2 separate regions of the Homo sapiens genome follow, and region 2 is linked to region 1. The links are contacts of gene promoters, found by promoter capture Hi-C in human tissues and cell types (Jung and others, 2019). All regions are on one chromosome and are shown on one strand. Each heading gives the region's core, a stretch centred on a gene start or on the middle of the fragment in contact. The rest is flanking DNA. Distances are from core to core; before and after follow the strand shown.

Region 1 (5,497 bases), core at 921-3,420:
AATGGTTTGCCCTTCTGCAGACATGACACTCCCTCTAAGCCCCCAGGTTCCTCTGCATATTCTGTGTCCCTTGCCTGGAATGTCCTCCCTTGCAAGTGCCTGTCCAACTCCCTAAGTCCCGGCCTGGATTTCACTTCCCCTGTTAATCTGTCCCCAGAGAGCAGGGCAAACCTTCCTGTCTTCTCTCACAGCTCTGAGCGCAGCCACCTTGCAGCTCGGTGGGTGGCTGTCCAGCTCTGGCCACAGATGCAGGGCTTCCTGGGGGCCTGGCTGGGCCTCTCATCCCTGCCTTACTCTTGGCACAGAGGGGGTGTTCATGTTTGTCAATTGAACAAATGAGTTGGGCCAAGGAGAAAATCGGGGCCCCTGTGTCTTCTAGGGTCTCCCAGGCCCAGAGGCTGGAATGTAAAAGGACCTAAGGAGAGGAGGTCCCCTCGTGGCCTTTCTTCACACAAACGTCGGGCTTGAGCTTGAGGCAAACTGTTTTTCCCAGAGAAAGCTGGCAGTACCAGCCGCAAGCCATGGTCATTTGAGTGGCAGCCCCCAAGTTTGCAGATTTGTCCCTGCTTCCCCAGAGACACCCCTCCATCCCCACTCTGCAGGCCACTCCCACTCAGAGGCTCTCCCTTGGGGTGAGGCTTTGGAGCTTGCTTGGGAAAAGTCCCACTTACCTCTCTGTGGCTGAAGGGCCCTTGGGCCTCACTCAATAGCAGGTCCTTCCCACGGGCTGCCAGCTCCTTGAGGATTAGGTGCTCCTCCAGGGCCGTCTGCAGGCGCCAGGGGAGGGAGGCCAGGGTGTCCCTGTGGACAGTCACCTGCACCAGTGCATAGGCCTTCCGCGGCCGCCTCACCACTTCAATGTGCTCCCGCGCCACCGGCATCTCCAGCCGCTCCAGGGTGTCTCGCAGCAGGCAGGCAAGCACCGGCACTGAGAACTGGGGGTTCAGATGGCCCACATAGAGAGTGTGCGCCGAGGGAGCCTCCTCGAGGTCAGAGTACTCCGTCAGGGACTGCTCTGCGGGTAGCTCCGGCAGGGACTCCTCACCCCAGGACTCCATGAAGGGCTCTGACACCTGTGTTTGCACTGATCTCTTCATGGGGGTCATGGGAAGGCTCTCCCTGGGAAGGGGTTCCAGGATTCCTCACTGCTGGCTGCTTCTCCCAGGGTCTGTGTTCTCAGTGTGGCTTAAGGGCTCCCAGAGGACTCAGGGAGTGTCCCGGCTCCTGGGAGGTACACAGATTGGCAGAGACTGGGCAGGGCCAGAGAGAGGGAGGGCAGAGGGCAAGCAGGAAAGGGCCTGCCACCCACCTGAGGCCTAGGATGAGAAAGCAGAGTCACGTGGACTGAGCAAGACACAGGGCCTGTGGGAAGACGGGATCTGCCCAAAAAGTGGCAGAAGGGACCAGAACTCAGGTCTCTGAGAGCTCCACCATTTCAGTGGCCCCAGGGGTCCTGTCTTCCCTCCCCAACCCACAGGCTAGGGGCCTCCTAGGTACCCTCAGGGTTTCCTGCCTACCAGTTCACTCCTGCCTCCAGGCAACAGAGAAAACCTTTACACAGGGCCTCCTGGAGAGGAGGCCTTAACCCAGGACTCTGAGGACTGGCTGGTGGCCCCATTGCAGCTTCTCTGCCTGCTCTAAAACCCCATGTGAGGCCATCGGGGGCTCTGAAACTAGGCAGCGCTGGGGCAGAGGCTTTTAGAGCAGAGGATCTCACGCTTTTTGGCACACTGATGAAAGCTATGGCCTCTCAGAAAAATGGCCTTTGCATATAAACATAACTTAAGGTGGCTCCTAGACCCTAAGAACTAGTCTAGACTGAGTCCTCCATTTTTGGTCCAGAGAGCAGAGGTCAACAGGGCAGAACGAGGGTTAGAGTTGGGGCCCTAGTGCCCCCGCCCCAAGTCCAGGGAGCCTCTGTCCTGAGCTGTGCACATATGTGCACACACCAGCCCCTCTACTGCTCCCCACACACCCAGCCTGCATCTTCTCAAATGGAATCCTTGAGGCAGTTGGCCTGGGGGCATTCAGGTCAAACAGGAAGAGGAGGAGAGGAGAGGCCTATGACCTTCATGTCCTGGTGGCTCCCGCGGGAGCATGGGAGGTGCCTGCCCTGAGCTCCCATAGCCTCCCGACCCCTGGCCGGTAGCTCTCAGGGAACTTGGAGGCTTGGCACAGGGACGGCCAGAACCAGGGTTATAGGAAGTGGGCGGGGCCTGCACAGCTACCTCTGTGATCTCATGAGGTTCAACAATGCCTTCTTGGCCAGCCACAGGCAGGCTGGGTGCGGGAAATCAAACAGGAAAACTCAGCTCCCTGTGGGTCCCACCACACACTGGAAGCAGACCCAGCGGCCCACCCACCATGCAGCTTGGCTGTGGGACACACTTCCCCACTTAGTGATGTCTCTTCAGGCCCCAGTTCCCATGCAGGTCACCTCTTGCCACCTCTTTCAGCGCTGCTGCCTAAAGCCTCCACCTCCCTCTTTAGTCAGTCACCAATCCCAGGCTCTACTGAGTACTGACAGGGCCCAGCTGCTCCCAAGATGGAGCAGGAGGCACATGGTAGGCTCCAGGGCTCCCCCTGACGCCAGGCCCTTCTCTGTGCTGGAGACAGAGGCTGCTGTCCAGAAGAGCCCTGAAAAATAGGTCAGGCGTAGCTATCTATCTCTTTGGGAAGATGAGGTTGTTACCTGCTGTTGGAGAAACCAAGACGTGGGTGACACACAGTCTTTATCAGCACAGGACTGACCAGTGCTCATCATTCTGCAGAAGGCTGGCAGCGCTTGCCCACACTGCTTCTGGAAGCCCCAATTGGGGGCAGTAAGGATGGTGCCACAGTTAGATGCTTCAACTAAGAAAGCTGTTTGACAGCGTAGAGAAGCTGCCTTCCTTGAAAGCAGCCTTTCTGAAGATGTTACCAAATGTTTGTTTCCTAGGGGGTGAGGCAGTAGTTTGGGTAGAGCACTCAAGAAAAGAGGCTATGGTGTGCGGGGAAGAGAGGGGCGCAGGCCTCAACTGGTGGCAGTGCGAGGCTCTGGGGAGAGTGCATTCGGTGCCCTCTCCTTGCCCGCCCGGGCAGCAGCCAGGTTGGGCTCGGCTTTGTGTCCACAGCTCTTAGGGTTAGAGAATGACGGCTCCAAGCTCCCCCTGCCTCACCCCCTCTCCCTCAAGCCTTTCTTGCCTCTGTCATCCATGAGGTGCCCTCACAGCAACTGAGGCTATAGCTGTTTTGAGATGGCCAACTCAAGTCGTGTTGAACTGTGCAGAAATAGCTGTCCGGGAGAAGCACCTTGACAGACGAAACACCTGAACATGACCAGAGGCGTTCTCCCTACTTACCTAGAGGCCTTGCTATTGGGTGGCTGTTCTGCATGAAATTTCCCAAATTGACTTGAGTGCAGCAACTTTCCCCACTCTTCCTGGCAGTCTCTTTAAGCCACTGCATCACATATTTCTCTGGCGCCTTTAACAGCCTTCTGTGAGCTGAATCAGTTCTACTTCTTTTTGGAGATGGGGGTAAAAATTGTCTTTCATGGTAAGCACTAAACACATTTATGAACCATCTTTTAAATACATAAATATAAGATAACAAGGTTATTTACGGTGTCTCTGGCTCTCTAGTATTAGGTAATAGTATTAGAAAGTATAGGTGCTCTGCAGGCAGCTTGGAGTGGTGGGTTCCCAGTGGGGGGATAAGCAGCCCCGTTAACCCTCTTGCTGGATGTCTGTGACCTCACTGACAAACCTCATCTTGAACTGAAGGAAAAAACCCTAGAATTTAAGCCTCTTTATGAATGTGAGGTGGGGCCCAAAGATGAGGGGCAGAGAGCTGAGCCGCTGTGGATGGCCTCTTTTCATGTTATCTGGACAGTGTCCACTGGGTGGCCCACATGGCCACAATCCCTGAACCCACAGCAGGCATGCCATCCCCTCTTCCCCACAGCTCCCACTTCACAATCTGCTGTTTGCCCAGGAAGGCCAGTCAAGGGGCAGAGGGATAGGGAAGAGGAATGAGCCCAGCCAGGTGCAGGAGAGAACAAGGATGATCAAGAAGAGCGAACTCTGGGGAGCAGAGTTACAAACATAGCTTTCCAGGTCCTGGGACCCACATCACTCCAGCCTCCCTTGGTCTCAAGCCCTCCCCTAGCGTGCTGCCTCCAGCCTGTAGATCCCCACCTGGCTCTGACAGGGCCCAGCCCCAGTTACTGCAGAGTATCTCTGACTTGAGTGGCTCCAGCCTAGTGTCTGTGCCCTGGGTACTGTGGGCTGCCAGCCTCTGTGAGCACCTGCAGTGGCTTTGGCACTGTAGGCACAGAGCCGCAGTTCTGATGCTTGGCTGTGACTGCCTCTGGGCTGAAGGCTGGAAGCTGTGGCTCTGCCCTGACGGAATGTGGTGGCAAGACCATGTCCAGTGACTCAGGGTACTTAGGTAAAGAGGCTGCAAAAAGCTGAGGGCTGCTGAGGGGAGAAGTGTTGGGACCCTCTTCTCAAGGTTTCCCACACTTTTTGTTTTGGTGGTAAAGAAGGAGGGATGATTCACCTTCAGGCTCTTGCCAACGAGGGAGTGTGGCACCAGTGTGAGGGCCGGAACAGTGTCCATTTGGCCCACCATTGCTACACCTCAGGGATCAATCTTAAGGAGTCCCATAAGACCCCCACAAAGAGTGTCTGGACAATGCAGTCCACGGCCAGCAGGCAGGGTGGAGCCACGGCTGGGGAGGGCGGAGTGTTCCAGAAAAATGCCCCACACTCCCATGGATTCGGCCTTAGGTGGGGCCTAGATCTCTGTTACCTCCCAAAGTGTTTGGTGTTTCCCTCCTGAGCTCAGCACAAAGTCAGTGTCATCTCCCTGTCCCCCCATTGAGGGTGAGCACATGAAGCTGATGCCATGAGACCTCTGGCACCTGTGCCTTTCCACCTGGTGGGCTACTGGACTGCTGGGGTTCACGGAGTGGCCTCTCCAACACTGCAGCATGTGTGCACTGGGTCTGAGGCCCGTTCGAGTGCTTTTAATGATTCTGGGTCACTATTAGAAGGCTTTTGGCTTTTGAAACAATTTCCAAAGTTGAGGGGTTTTTTTCTTTCTTAAACAACATTTAATTTTGACCCCAGAGGTTATGGCAGCGTGAATCATCCTCTCCTTTCCTGCAGAACTTGACATTTGGTTACCTTTCTAGTTCTTTTTGTCTGGAAACCAGATAAAAGTATGTTAGCTGTTTCAGTGCAACATTACTTATGGTAAGCATGATTCCTAATTGTAAATTATCAGCACTTGGAGTTTTCTGTGTGAACTATAAACACTTGTTAAAAAGCCATAAGGTTGGGCGTCCTATGTGGAATGACTCAATTGGGTATGTGGCTTATGGGGTCCCTGAAAGCTATGCCTATTGAGTTGTTCAAAGAGATATGAGCTCCTTTGGGGAATGATGCCTCTAAGCCACAGTGAACCAACCCCCTTCTCCCTGATGTGTCTCATTCCCTTGTACCTGAGCTGT
Region 2 (5,497 bases), core at 2,074-4,573, 84 kb before region 1:
GAGACAAGGTCTCGCTATGTTGCCCAATCTGTTCTCAAACTCCTGGGCTCAAATGATCCTCCCACCTTCACGTCCCAAAGTGCTGGGATCACCACTCCAGGACACATTTTTTTTTTTTAATGGAAAAGATGTCACAAATGGAGACCCAGTTTAGTACAAAGGAGATGGGGGTGGGGCGTTTTGGTAGGGTTCAGGGCACTGTGGATTCTCAGCAGTCACTGACTCTTACCAGTCCTGGAAGTGCGTCAAGCAGCTGGACAGAAATCACAGTGTGGACACTGGTTGGCACTTAGGGAACTCATTCATTCGTTGACTTTACAAATATCTATTTATCTGTCAATGTTCTAGGGCTCAAGGAGCTAATTCCTTAGCTTCTAACTGGAGGAGACAGACAACAAACACGTGAGTGCGTAATTTAACATCAGATCAACTGCTGTAAAGGAAAAGAAAGTCAAATCAAGGGTTAAAAAGTGCTGGGAAGAGCTCCATGATTTGAGTGGTCAAGGCCTCTCTGAAGGACAGACATCTGATTTCCAATAAAACAATTAAGAAATTACATATTTCCTTTTGTTACCTTTAAATTTATATATTAAATAGCTGACAAAAAATATTTAAAGCTTAATAGAGCATAAAATAAAGGCCATAAAAATGAACAATGAAACCAGTAGAAATCAACAGAAAATCGATGGAAGAAAATGGTAACAAAAGAATTTCAGATCATTCCAAAAGCAGTAACTCAGTAAGAGGAAAAGATAAATTTGCAAAGCAGGTATAAATAGCCTTCTGGAGTCTTTGGTAATCCAATTACTAAAAAGGAATAGGTGGGTACAGTTGTTCATGCCTGTAAGCTTAGCACTTTGGGAGGCCAAGGTGAGAGGATTGCTTGAGCCCAAGGGTTCGAGACCAGCCTGTGCAACATAGCAAGGACCCCCAAATCTATTTTATTTTATTTTTAAATAAAATTTTTTTCTAGCCCATAAGATATGGCAGAAAGACCCCATAGCAAAAAAAAAAAAAAAAAAAAAAAAAAATTAGCCAGGCATGGTGGCATGCAGTGCAGTCCCAGTTAGCTACTCTGGGGGCTGAGGCAGAAGGATCACTTGAGCCCAGGAGTTAGAGGTTACAGTGAGCTATGATGGTACCACTGCACTCCAGCCTGGGTGGCAAAGTGAGACCCTGTCTAAAAATAATAACAATAGGCTGGGCACGGTGGCTCACACCTGTAATCCCAGCACTTTGGGAGGCCGAGGCTGGCAGATCACCTGAGATCGGGAGTTGGAGACCAGCCTGACCAACATGGAGAAACCCCATCTCTACTAAAAATACAAAATTAGCTGAGCGTGGCGGCTCATGCCTGTAATCCCAGCTACTCAGGAGGCTGAGGCAGGAGAATTGCTTGAATGTGGGAGTGGAGGTTGCAGTGAGCCGAGATCGGGCCATTGCACTCCAGCCTGGACAAGGAGAGTGAAACTGTGTCTCAAAATAATAATAATGAATAATAAAAAGGAGTAGATCATGGACACAGTGGAAAAAATATTTACTTTTGCTGAGTTGACACACATTACTGAACTAAGAAAGCATGAAACTTACAATGTACCACTACAAAAGAACATTGATGACAAATGGATAATGAGAATCAATTAAAAGAAGATTTACAATTAATTGTACAAGAAAATTGAAAATGTCCTGAAAGAAACTTGATGGAGGTTTTCACAACTTTGGCAACAATCTTAATAATTGAAACAACATGACCTAAAGTCAGTTATGATGCTAGACGAAACTTTACTAAATTACCAATTAAAAAGTATTTTTCAATAAACCATTTCAGAAGAAAGAGAGAATCCTCTCTCCCTCCTCTCTGTAGAAACACAAAATTACAAAAAAAAAAAAAAATTTAAGTTGTTATATTGGAGAGGCAACCAAAGAAAATGTAGCCAACATATAGGATATTATAGAGGTATGTCAGATGGCAATTAATGAAAATTTATGTATTTTTCTGGATTCTGTGACTTTTGAGCTATTTGTCAGCTGCTAAAATCTTATCTGTTGTGATTTATTTTCTCATTACAAATAAACCTTCATGTTTATACCTGCATTTGTTAGCTACTGGTAGAGTACTGCTGTGTAACATATGGTCCCCAAACTCAGCGGCTTACAAGTATTTATTGGCATAGATCTGCAGATCAGCTGGGATGCTTTAGGCCACAGCAGCTGTGAGCTAGGTTATCTAAGCTGGGTCAGCTGGATGGCTTTGCTCCCTGTATCCCTCATCTTCCTCCTGGGACCACTGTGCTAACCAGTGAATGCCCTCATGTTGAAGACAAGGTACAAAGAAGAAAGACCCAGACTCAGAAGTAACATGCTGTCACTTCCACTCAATCCCATTGGCCAATGCAAGTTACATGGCCAAGGCCAGAGTCAAGAAGAGTAGAAATACACTCTGACACTTTAGTGGCCCAAACTGCAAAGTCATATGGCAAAGATGTAGACCCAAGGAGGGGGGAAGTATTGGGTCCAGTAATGCAATCTCCTGTAGTACCTAATTTTGTACTTAGAATTTTGCAGTCTTTTTCATAAAGAGCCCTCCTCACCATACAAACACACACACACACACACACACACACGCACAGACACACACACACTTATATAAACCTCAGGCTTTCACAAAACCTGGATCTGTCCCTGCTGGCTATACTCTTTAGGGTGCCTGCTTTAATAACAAACACTGCAAATAAGAGCTTCATGAGTAATTTTTTCTGAGCTCGCAAGTTTATTATGAAAACTCTGCAGTGCTCTTGTGCAATAAAACATCACTTTACAGGAAGGGGCAAAAACAGCTCTGTTCAAAACCACTCACTAGGTTCTGACAATAACGAAGAATGGCATGTGGCTCAGATTTGAGAAGGCGACAAACTGAGTGGAGGCAAGTCTTATAATTAAATTAAATGGTATCCCTGAAAATAAACAGAACGATTTCAAAACCCTTAAGTAGAGGGGAGGGCTTGGCATTTATTTTTTTTAATTTCATTAAGTTCCAGTGATCCAGTGATTGTTTTCTGCTACCCCTATGTACAGTCATGCTGAGTAAAGCTATAGCTAGATGGAGGTTAAATTGTATTCACAAAGTGAATTTACATCTTATTATCTGCGGTCTCTCAAAGAAAGCAAAAGTAACTGCAAACACCATGTTGCTCCAGCATACAATGAACTGGTTTATTCTAAAGTGATCACGGCTTGGTGACAAAAAGCTTTGTATTTTTATATGGCACAGCTTTTAGTCCATGTGAAAACAAATTTTTTGAATGTTAACTATTTTCTGACACTTTGGAGTTACTGTTGCTGTCCCCATTTCCATTAAGTCAATATACAATTCATGGCAATCCTGTTCAAATTTAAAATTCTTTTTCTTTTTCTTTTTCTTTTTTTTGAGATGGATTTTTGGTCTTGTCTCCCAGGCTGGAGTGCAATGGCACGATCTCGGCTCACTGCAACCTCCGCCTCCTGGGTTCACGCGATTCTCCTGCCTCAGCCTCCCCAGTAGCTAGGATTACAGGCGCATGTCACCATGCCCGGCTAATTTTGTGTTTTTAGTAGATTTTAGTGTATTTTGTATTTTTAGTAGATTTTAGTGTATTTTATATTTTAGTTTCACCATGTTGGCCAGGCTGGTCTTGAACTCCTGACCTCAGGTGATTCTCCCGCCTTGGCCTCCCAAAGTGCTGGGATTACAGGCGTGAGCCACCATGCCCAGCTTAAAATTTCATTACAGGAAGTAATCTGGGGTACAATGAGTAACATGTGGCTTGCCTCTGTGAGGTGCTGGGTCATACTGCAAAAAAAGAGTATTTTAGAGTATTATCAAGTTCCATGATTGCAGTGTGATTACCACAATGATAGCAATAGTTTGGAGTACTGAAGATGGCTACTACATTCCAGTCATGACACCAGTTATGTCCCACCATCACCAGCTGGTGAGCTCTAGACACCAACCTGAGGCCACTGGCATGATTAAATGTCTCAGGAGTATCTTGCCCAAAGGTGTAACCATCTCCTCAAAGAGATATACCCCAGCCACCATGGTCATCTGGATCTGAGTATAGCAAGTCACCCATTGGACCCTCATGGGGAATTTTCTGTAGGCAATTCAGTGTTCTGATGTGATGCAGTGTATCTACAGATGGCGACAGGCCACCATGGAGACAGAAGAGCTGCCCATCCCCCAAGGCAGTGAGAGGAAGATGGCCTGTAAAGGCCGGGCATGGCGGCTCATGCCTGTAATCCCAGCGCTTTGGGAGACCAAAGCAGGTGGATCACTTATGCCCAGGAGTTCAAGACCAGCCTAAGCAACATGGTGAAAAACTCATCTCTACAAAAAAATACAAAAAATTAGCCGGGCATGATGGTGCACGCCTGTAGTCCCAGCTACCTGGGAGGCTGAAGTAGGAGGCTCACTTGGGCCAGGGAGATTGAAGCTGCAGTGAGCCATCTTTGTGCCCTTGGACTCCAATCTGGGTGGCCCAGTCTTTGAAAAAAAAAATCTGGAAAATATTTCTAAACATTTGCATTTCCATGTTTTCTTAAACACTCTTCATAGGAATGATAAACTTGTGTGATCTGCCTGCTCTCATGATTCCTTGGAAGAATGGTGACGCATTCATGGTAAGAAACCTTAACAGCTAGGAGCAGCATAACTATTTCAATTGAATAATATCCTCTGTCAATATAATCTCCTGTAAACAAGTAATTTGTATCTGGTAATTTTCTATTAATTTTTTTTTGAGACAGGATCTCGCTATATTGCCCAGGCTGGTCTTGAACTCCAGGACTCAAGCAATCCATCTGCCTTGGCCTCTGAAAATGCTAGGATTACAGGTGTGAGCCACCACATCCAGCCTGTATCTGTATCTGGTAATTTTCTATTTTTGTTTTGGTTTTTTTTTTTTTTTTGAGATGGAGATCTCACTCTATCACCCAGGGTGGAGTGCAGTGGCACGCTCTCAGCTCACTGCAACCTCCGCCTCCCAGGTTCAAGTGATTCTCCTGCCTCAGCCTCCTGAGTAGCTGGGAAGCTAATTTTTGTATTTTTAATAGAGGCAGGGTTTCACCATGTTGGCCAGGCTGGTCTCCAACTCCTGACCCCAAATGATCCGCCCGCCTCAGCCTCCCAAAGTGCTAGGATTACAGGCGTGACCCATCACGCCCGGCCATCTGGTAATTTTCTAAACAGTTCCATGAGAACATGAAATTGCCCATGCTTATCTCCAGAGACAGTGACTGGACACCAAACCTCTTGTGCATTGGATTCTTCTGTCAGGATTTCTTTAGCCTCCTTGCAGAGGCTCTTGACCTGGGACTTGGATAGCTACTTTCTCTGGTTCAGCTGCTTGATCCACTGGTCCAGCTCCTTGGAGAACACCTCATCCATGATGCCACCTGCCCGAGCTGGCTGCTGCACACGGGCCACATGCATCTGTGGCCACTGACAGTTGCTTGGTGC

What was found. Contacts are between HindIII fragments. The study calls those that stand out against the background at their distance.
Region 2: a contact is called between a fragment that was not itself captured here and the fragment with the promoter of SLFNL1 in region 1, in 3 of the 25 tissues and cell types used here (aorta, hippocampus and mesenchymal stem cells).

Annotation. Positions count from the first base shown.
Region 1 is chr1:41,019,555-41,025,051 of GRCh38, forward strand. SLFNL1 (schlafen like 1) reads right to left here and starts at 2,171. Exons shown (of 6, transcript NM_144990.4): 1 at 2,069-2,171; 2 at 1,310-1,316; 3 at 672-1,224. The coding sequence starts at 1,106. The region is part of intron 1 of SLFNL1-AS1 (SLFNL1 antisense RNA 1); the gene reads left to right. The HindIII fragment of the contact is 20,466 bases long and covers 1-5,497 here.
Region 2 is chr1:40,934,336-40,939,832 of GRCh38, forward strand. It overlaps the pseudogene LOC100128362. Among named protein-coding and RNA genes, the nearest start is that of CTPS1, 43 kb to the right of the region's middle. The HindIII fragment of the contact is 6,881 bases long and covers 1-5,497 here.